Linked DNA regions of Homo sapiens: region 2 is linked to region 1. Evidence: promoter capture Hi-C in 16 types of primary human blood cells and fetal thymus (Javierre and others, 2016). All regions are on one chromosome and are shown on one strand. The core of a region is centred on a gene start or on the middle of the fragment in contact, and the rest is flanking DNA. Distances in the headings are between cores, read along the strand shown.

Region 1 (4,940 bases), core at 294-2,793:
CCCTTGACCCAGCTCTGGCAGGAGGGGCGCCCAGTTTAAGAGCCAAGGGTTTGGCTTCCAGTTCCCGCCCAGCCAGGGGAACCCCTCCCCCCAGCCCCCATTTCTCCTTTTGGTCCCTCCAGAGTTTCCCTGAAGCGAGAAATTGGGAACTTGGAACAGGTGGGCACCTAGGGATAGAGGCGAGAAGAAGAAGGAGAGAAGGATGAGAGAAGAGAAAAATAAGCGGAGGATTTCAGAGCTCGCACGCTCGACAGGGCTGGTACAGGCAGCAGCTGCACTCGCTCGCGCTGAGTCCGGAACCTGCTCTCGTGCGCCCACCCGCACCCGGAGCCTCGCGCAAGTCCCGCGGGGGTCCGCGCCACAGGGCAGAGTCCCGGCAACCCGCTGGAGCCAAGCGCGCGGCTCCCGGAGCCTCCCACACAAGCGCGCGCGCACACACACATACTCCCCACCCTCAGGCTGAAAGAACCTACGTTCGGGGTTTGGGGGACGGTTCCCCCGGGACTCGTTGAGGAGTATCCGAATACGGCCCCGCCAAATCCCCTGTCCCCGGCACTTCTTCCCTGACGCTCTACGCTAGTCCAGGGCAAGACCTTGAATCTTTGGGGTTCCGAATTGAGGCGCGCACAGCCACTCGCACCCCCAACACGCGCATACACGCACCCTGGAACACGACTTGGCACAAGTACCCTGGCTGGGGCTCCAAGGGTGGGCAGCGAGCTCTGAGCCCTCAGAGAGTGAAAACCATCTTTCAAAAGAGACAAAGTGTCGGCCCGCGGGCACCTGCGGGGCTGGGGCTCGAGGTGAGGTCCCCAGGCGCAGCCGGACGCGCCTCCCAGACTCCCTCCCAGTGCCCCGGAGCGCCTGGGACTTTGCGGGAGTCGCCGCCCGCCCGGAGTCTCGCGCACTCCAATTCCCGGGAAACCGCCACATCCACACACCCACTCCCAGCATCCACGACTCTCCCTCCCCAGGGAAATCGCCTTTGGTTTCCTGCTGGGAAGGAGGGAGTTGGGGCAAGATGTCTCGGGCTTCTTTTTCTTTTCAGGAGCCGGGAAGAGGCTGGAAAGGAGAGTTCCAGCACCCCGACTGTAAGATCCACGCCCAGGGGAAGCCAGGATCAGCCGGCGGCGCTGGCCGAGAACTTTGCGAGCCCAGGCTGGGAGGCGCGCGCCCCGGTGCGCCCACGCCGCGGCCGCAGCCCCAGAAAGAACCCGGGCGGGGGCCTCCCCGTACCTGGAAGTGCTGGAAGAAGGCGGAGATGCGAGTGATCTGCAGGCTCAGGCACCTGGAGGCGCAGCGAGCGCGCTGGACGCTCCCGGCAGACAGCGACTCGTCCAGCCGCCGCGCAGCAGCCGCGCCGGGGCCGGCCGCCAGGCAGCCGCTGGAGGCCGCCAGCCAGAGGCAGAGGGTCAGGACCGCGCCGGGCACCCCGGGCACCATGGCTGCGGGTCGAGGGCGAGGGCGAGGGCGCCGGGCGCGGGCCGAGGCTCCCTGCTCCGCGCCGGGGCTGCACTGCTGAGGACCAGGCAGACGCCGCGACTGAGCCGGAAAGTTCAATCCTTCAACTCCGGCCGGACCCTCCTCGCCGACCTCCCTCCCAGCTCGCCCTCGAGGGGTGGGGTGAGGGGGACAGGAGGCCGCACCATTGGCTGGAAGGCGTGTGAGTGACAGGGGGGCCGGGCGCAGGGCCCATGGGCCGGTCTCGTCAGCTGCGAGCCCGGGCGCTCCGGGGGAGGGCGACGCCGAGCGGCTTTCCACGCCGCGCAGGTCTCGAGGGGCCCAGCTCCCACGCAGGCGCCTCTCCCGTTCGCACCAACCGCTTCCTGCCCCTCCCACCTTCCCCCTCCGTCCAGGTAAACGTCGGTGTGAGCAGGTCCAGGCCTGCCAGGAGGGGTGCTCCCTTCAGCAGGAGGGAAGAGGCCTCAGGACCCCCAGGGGCGTCCCACCTGCCTGGGGATTGACCCCGCGCCCCTAAGTGGCTTGCTTTCTCCCCGACCTCCCCTGGGTCCAGGCTTTTCCCACGCTTTCACATATTCGAATTTCCTTTGCCCAGGTAGTGGAAAGAAGTGAAGAAAACAAATGGCAGTAAGACAGACGGGGAGGGGAGCGTGGACATTTGCCCTACAGTGTCCCGGAGACAAATTCCTCCTTCTCTCCCTCTTGCATTTCTTCCGTCCTTCCCGCATCCCTCCCTCCCTCCCTCCCGCACTGTTTTCCCTGGAGACAGTCTCAGTGCATAGCTAACCACCTTTAGGTCCACACGCCTTGTTTCCTCAGGTGTCTGTTTTTCTAGTAAGCCTTGCACGCCCCAAAGTGAGTGATTTATTCTAAATAGACTTGCGTCTTAATCTCTTTCTTTCCCCACGATTTGCCCGAGCCTCTTGACTCAGGCTTTTTAGCTTTGGAATGGCTGCTCCGTCCTCTCCTGTCGTTTTTGTCTAGTGTTCTCTCAGCACACAAATTCTCCCTCCCCAGCCAGGATCCTGCCACAGAAAGACAGGAGGCATTGATAAGACACAACTTGTAACAAAGCTCTACACTCCCCTGAGCCCCATCAGGAAGTGACAGTCCCCTTGCAGGTAGGAGAGCCCAGAGAAAAAAGACCCAGGCACACTCCTATTCGAATGGACAACAACTGACTGCTGTTCCTTTGCTCTGACATCTCCACCCTCTCCTACCCAATTGCACTTTCACCTTCGAAAACGGGATCTCTATAAGCACCCAGCTAAGCACAGTCAGGGTATCTAGATGCACTCGCTCTACTCAAAGCTACATCAGAAGGCTGGAATCCTCTTTGCACAAAGCCTATATAGTTGTTTTGCAATTTCCCACCCTTTTCCCTATTCTTATACACAGGTTCCACTCTGCAATTTTGAGATCTGCCTGTTAACAAATTGCAATGACAGCCATCTGCAGCTATCCTATTATGAGTGCTTTTCAAATACATCATCTTACATGTGTATTTCTTCACATAGCTTAAATCAGAAAGGCCAGTCAAATTAATTGGCCTTGGTGTGTTTCTCAGCGAATTAGAAAATCAGGGTCATCTTGTTCAAAAGGTTCTATAGGCAAAGCCAGTTTCATGGACATGCAAGCTGTACAATGGTACAGTCGCACTCTTAGAAGGCCTGTTCTGCCATCACCATCCTGAAACTCTTCACAATGACAGTGGCCTGTTAGGAACTGGGCCGCGGCAGGCCAGGGAACATTACTGCCTGAGCTGTGCCTCAGGTGAGAAATCAGTGGCAGCATTAGATTCTGATAGGAGCTTCAGTCCTATAGTGAACTATGCATGCGAGATGTCTAGGTAGCGCACTCCTTATGAGAATCTAATGTCGATCTGAGATGGAGCAGTTTCATCCCCAAGCCATCACTTGCTACCCCCAGGTCCATGGAAAAATTGTCTTCCATGAAACCAGTCCCTGGTGCCAAAAAGGTTGGGGCCACTCTTTACTTGGGCTGGAAACCTAGTAATTTTGGCATAAGCTTACACGACTTCAATGATTTGTTTTAAAATTGCTCAGAATTGCAAATGGAAATATTTTTTAAGTATGTTAAACATAATATTAACGAAGAGTAAAGAAGCTAACTATAATGACCCCAAGCAGGCATGTGTATAAAGCCAAGTGTCAATAAATAATGATGTCTGAATACCGAGATTGTCTTCTAAATGTTGTCACTTTCATTTGTGAATTACTAAAAACATTTCCAAAAGCTGTAGGGGATCCTTTCCTAGTGTTTGTTTGGAGTTGTTTTGTTTTGTTTTGAGACGGAGTCTCACTGTCACCCAGACTGGAGTGCAGTGGTGCAATCTCGGCTCACTGCAACCTCCGCCTCCCGGGTTCACGCCATTCTCCTGCCTCAGCCTCCCGAGTTGCTGGGACTACAGGCGCCCGCCACCACGCCCAACTAATTTTTTGTATTTTTAGTGGAGACGGGGTTTCACCGTGTTAGCCAGGATGGTCTCGATCTCCTGACCTCGTGATCTGCCTGCCTCAGCCTCCCAAAGTGCTGGGATTACAGGCGTGGGCCACCGTGCCTGGCCTGTTTGGAATTTTAAAGTTAAGCAAATATGTGGTCTTGGTGAAGGCAAAGATATTATGTACACCGACATTTTCTTAGGTAACTTTGATTTATAATTTTGCATGTCATATCATGAAATGCATATTCCAGAAAGTGAAATCACAAGGACAAGCATGCTGAGCTTTTAAAAACAGCCTTTGGATGTTCACAGGGGTTGCCGTTTTTTTTTTTTTTTAAAAAGCAGTGTGTGTGCTACTTATATGGGTTCCATAGCATATTCATTTCTATGAATAAATGCGTTTTGTAATAAACCACAAAGGAGAACAGTCAGTTTAACAGAAAACTTGGTTTTAAACATATAGAGCCACCTTATTATAAATATGTTAAAATAATATTTGCAGTTATATTGCTTTCTTCCTTTAGAATAATCACAGACATCCTCTGTGATTACGCAGGCCTTTCTCATATTATTTACTTTAATTGCAGCTTAAAGTAACTTTTAAAAGGAAAGCATTCTAGTAAAGTCAGAATAACAGTCAAATTTCGGTGTTTTTTTGTTTTGTTTTGTTTTCATTCTGCCCATGTATGCCCAACTTATTATGCAGCTCACCTTGCAAACTGAAACATGGAAGTTCTCTGACTTTTGACATTACCAGGTAAGCCACAATCTAAGTTCATGAAAGCCAACCACAGGGGAGGAGAACCCTAAGAGTATGCTGAGGAAATGATGGATAAAGGGGTAGGACCCTCGGGTGCAGCTAGTAAGACGGTACTTAGTATGTCTTTCTCCAAATCTCCTTGACCCCCATGATCCGAATTTGTCTAGAGAAGAATTTAACTTCACATTGACTTTGGTTTGACTTAAATAGACAAACACACATTTAACAAAGAGAGTAGAAAAGCACCTTAATTAT
Region 2 (4,696 bases), core at 1,100-3,599, 1.0 Mb after region 1:
ATTGTGGGAAAGACAAGGCTTGTGCGAGATTCCAGGTATTATGGAAGATTCACGGCATTATGAAAAATTGTAAAAAGGGATTGTGGGAGAAACAAGGAATTGTGGGAAAGATTGGGATTGTGGGGGACTCAAGGTAGTGTGAGAAAGAGAACTGTGGAAAAAAAGAAAGGATTATTGGGAAGAATGGAGAATTATGGGAAAGAAGAGGAATTGAGGGACAGGCAGGGAATTGTGGTAGAGAATGGAGACTTGTGGGAGAGAACAAATTAGAGTGGAGAATGGAGAACTGTAGGAGAGACAGATTGTGGTAGAAAATAGATTATAGAAGAGGCCTGATGCAGTGGCTCACGCCTGTAATCCCAACACTTTGGGAGGCCGAGGCGGGCAGATCACAAAGTCAGGAGTTCCAGACCAGCCTGGCCAACCTGGTGAAACTCCGTCTCTACTAAAAATACAAAAATTAGCTGGGCGTAGTGGTGGGTGCCTATAATCCCAGCTACTCAGGAGGCTGAGGCAGGAGAATCATTTGAACCCAGGAGGCAGAGGTTGTGGTGAGCTTAGATCGCGCCATTGCACTCCAGTCTGGGCAACAACAGCGAAACTCTGTCTCAAAAAAAAAAAAAAAAAGAAGAAGAATAAAATAGATTATAGAAGAAAACAGATTTTCAAGAAAAAATAGAATGGAGAATTGTGGGAGAAAACAATTGTTAGGAGAATGTTATTGTGAGAGAAATAGGGAATTATGAGAGAAAAAAGAATTGTGGGAGAGACAGGGGACTGTGGGGAAGAATGCCAAATTATGGGAGAGCCATGGAACTCTGGGAGAAATACAGAATCGGGGAAAATACAGGGTATTGTGGGAGATACACGGAATTGTGGGAGAGACAGAGAATTATGGGAGAAACAGAATTGTGGAGAGTAGAGAGGATTGATGGTCAAACCAAGAATGGCGGGGTGGGTGTCATATGGAATTGGGGGAGATAAAAGGCATTGTGGGAGATACAGCTACGCTCCTTTCTGGCCATGTTTCTGGGCTCTGAATGGGCCTCACCCCACCTGTGTGGGAACACAGCCCCTCTGTTCTATCCTAACCACGACCCCTCCACTCCCAACAAGCCCTAAGCCTCAGCCTCACCGGCCTGGGCTTCTCCCCGGGATGATCCTTAAATCTTGCAAGTTTGTGTACTAGCACACTCGTCTTCCAGGAAAGATCTATACTCCTGCTCCCATCAGAAATGCCCTGCTCTTAGTAGCCACATCCCTCCTGCCAGACTCTGCCCCTTCGCTCTCACCAGGCCCTACCCCAAAACACAGCCCCGGCCAGGCTCTATAAGCTCCACCCAGTCCCCACCCCTCCTGCCAGGCCATGCCCCCCTGGCTCGCTCCCTGGAGGGAAACCGGGAGGTACCAAGGGGCTGGGTCTCCTGAGAGCCAGCGCAGGCCCGGGAGTTGGGTGCCTGCACATCTAGGGAGTCAAAAGCGGTTCAGGTGCACAATCCTCCCCTAGTAATGACTCTCTTCAGGATTGTCCCAGATCCCAACACCTCGACTTGATGAGCAGAGAGTGTTCAGCAAGGAGGCACAATGGTGACGGGGCGTGGAACCGAGCTCCATCCAGCGGCTCTCCGCCTCCCTAAGCGGAGACACAGATCCCCTCAATGGAAACTGCTGCCACAATCACAAAACGCGATGCATTACGTGTTTTCTTCCACGCCCATGCACTGGGCTGGTCCTACAAGCAAATTGCAGTGTCTCTCCACTTAAAAACCTTAACTGGCCTTTCGCTGGCCACCGGATAAAGCCCAAACGCCCTAGCAGAATCTTTATAAACCCTTCACCACTTCTCCAGCTTCCCCCAACGCCTCCATACCACGCTGAGCCACAACCGTCCCCAAACAAGACGCAGACTTTCTATGCTAACTCTCAACACCGCGTCTTCCTCATCTAGATTTTCTGTCTCCTCTTTGCCTATGCTGTTCTATCATCTAAGACCCAGCCCGCACATCACCTTCTCCAGGAACTCTCACCAGTGTTCCAAAACCAACTTAGTCCTGCATTGCCTGTGTTCCTTTAACCCTTCACAGGTTTAAAAAAAAAAACAGTATTGTCCTTACTTACTTGGGAGTTTCACAAATTATACTTCTCAGGAACACTCACCCATCCCGGCTAAAATGGTGTTGAATATTTGCTTAAGACAAAATTCAGTTAACTTGTGTGAAGTACCTAGTAAGTTCCAGACACCATATCAGATACTTAATAAAGCTCCATGCCAGCCTATTGGTCTTGTAGTGAAACCCGAAGCAGTAGGGTCTGAAGGGTATGATGAACAAGTTGAGCTTTATATCCACTGTCTACATAGGGAGAAGCCCATGGCTAAGTTTTTTCTGTATCTGCCATCGTAGTAATCAGGTGCAGCCAATAGGAAAGCAGCCCTGGTAAGGGGTTTTCCTTGACTTTACGCACAGAAGTAGTATCCGATGCACACTTAACTTACCCAAATTCACCTCTACTTAGTGAGGGGCTGGGGAGGTATGGCAGGGAGAGTAGGTGAGGATTTACATAGTCCCAGGGATCCTGCTGCCTGCAAGCTGGTAAAGCTCTGGTAGGAAAATCGGAATGACACCTGCGTTTCCCCCGCCACTGACAGAAGGGAAGCACATTCTGGGGTGACAGGCAAGTGGCCCCAGAGACATACCGACCAGGAAAGATTTAGAAGGGATCCTAAAATTGTCCCCAAACAATACAATGGTGATGAGAGCCAAAAGTCCGATGTGGAAATATTAAAAAATGTGAGGTGTCCTAGGCAGCAAATTAATTTCTGAATAAAAGCCTTTTCAATTCTTTTTAGATTAATGTATGCAAATTCCTGCATAGGGTTACCATACAAAATGGTGATGACTGCATGTTATGGGCAATTTTAAGATATTCAAAGGGTGACTAGATGTAAACTTATGACCCTAACCACCACCTCAGTAGCACCGCCACTTTATACTTTTTTTTAAAGAGATGGGGTCTCACTATGTTGCCCAGTCTGGACTCCAACTCCTGGCCTCAAACGATCCTCCTTCCTCAGCCTCCTGAGTAGCTGGGGATACAGGTTCATACTACCAGGCCAGGCCACTTTATACTTTTGCAGATGTTTGTTGTTAATTCTGAAAACTCACTCTATGCTTCAAGCTCTATCCTCAAAAACCCTGACAGATGTTACCTAATAATATGTCACTTGGAGTTCTAAATTGGCAGCTGCCATTTTTACAGGAATTCTTCCCACAATAAAAAAATACCGATTGTATTTCTCATTTTTCTCAAAAGGCTTTCCTTTTGTTCTTTCCTTTTCCTCCAGTGTTTTCTCCAATTGGTATTTCCATTGAGTGTTCTATTGTTAGAATAGAATGATTTTTTAAAATATTTTAATTTTCTCCAATAGACTGTGAGATCCTTGAGGGCCAGGTTTACACATCTCCAGTATCTCCACCCCACTCAGCTCCTAGTACACAGCCTGGTAGAGTTTGGGGCAGTCATAAGTAGTTATTAACAGAATAAGAGTGGGCCAGGTGCAGTGGCTCAGGCCTATAATCCTAGCACTTTGGGAGGCCAAGGTGGGAGGATCATTTACAAGAGTTTAAGACCAATCTGGGCAACATAGGGAGACCCCAGCTCTATAAAATAAATTTTAAAAACACACACACAAAACCAAAGAAAATTAGCAGGGTGTGTTGGCACCTGCTTGTTGTCCTAGCTACTCAGGAGGCTGAGGTGGAAAGATAGCTTGAGCCCAGGAGATCAAGGCTGCAGTGAGCCATGTTCATTCCACTGCACTTCAGCCTGGACAACAGAGTGAGACCCTGTCTCAAAAATAAATAAATAAAACAAAGAATAGGTGTATCCATACAACGAAATATTATCAATCCATAAAAAGAATGAAGTTCTGACACCTGCTACAACATGGGCGAATCTAGAAAACACTATCCGAAGTACAAGAAACCAGACACAACAGGACGAATATTACACAATGCCCTTTCCATGTAAGGTCTGGAACAGCAAAGCCATAGAGACAGAAAGGAGATTCATGGTTGCCAGGGGCTGGGGAGAAGAGAAGGGAAATGACTCCCTGGGGGCACAGGGTTTCTTTCTGCAACGATGAACATGTTCTGACTTAGATAGTGGTGACGTGTGCACAACCACTGAAATGTGCCATTTAAAGGGGTGACCTTTATGGTACGTTAATTATATCTGAAATTTTTTAAAAAGCCAAGGGACCAGGTGCAGTGGCTCAAGCCTATTATCCCAGCACTTTGGGAGGCCGATGCAGGAGGACCACTTGAGACTAGCCTGGGCAACATAATGGGACCTCGTGTCTCCAAACACTAAAAAATAAAATAAACTAGGCATGGTGGTGTGCACCTGTAGTCCCAGCTACTCAGGAGACTCAGGTGGGAGGATTGCTTGAGCCCAGAAGGTGGAGGCTGCAGTGAGACGTGTTCCTTCCGCTACACTCTAGCCTGGATGACAGAGGGAGACCCTGTCTCAAAAAACAAAAACAGGGAGCCCTCACAGAGAGCAGCCTCCAGGGATGGCTGCCCTGCTTATTTTTCTATTGGATCTGTATTTGCTTTTTCTAAAACCTCTATGTGAAAACATCCAACCTTTGAGCAGAAGATCTATGCAACAGCTTGCCGGAGGGAGTGGAAGTAAG

Evidence for each region. The method cuts DNA at HindIII sites, captures the fragments that hold promoters and counts their contacts. A CHiCAGO score of 5 or more calls a contact.
Region 2: a fragment that was not itself captured here is called in contact with the fragment with the promoter of ANOS1 in region 1 in 5 of 17 cell types (naive B cells, total B cells, non-activated CD4 T cells and 2 more); the score reaches 10.0 in naive B cells.

What each region holds. Positions count from the first base shown.
Region 1 is chrX:8,730,594-8,735,533 of GRCh38, forward strand. ANOS1 (anosmin 1) reads right to left here and starts at 1,544. Exons shown (of 14, transcript NM_000216.4): 1 at 1,237-1,544. The coding sequence starts at 1,443. The HindIII fragment of the contact is 4,315 bases long and covers 1-3,487 here.
Region 2 is chrX:9,733,471-9,738,166 of GRCh38, forward strand. The region is part of intron 8 of GPR143 (G protein-coupled receptor 143); the gene reads right to left. LOC105373126 (a long non-coding RNA gene) reads left to right here and starts at 3,630. Exons shown (of 2, transcript XR_950507.2): 1 at 3,630-4,696. The HindIII fragment of the contact is 5,511 bases long and covers 1-4,696 here.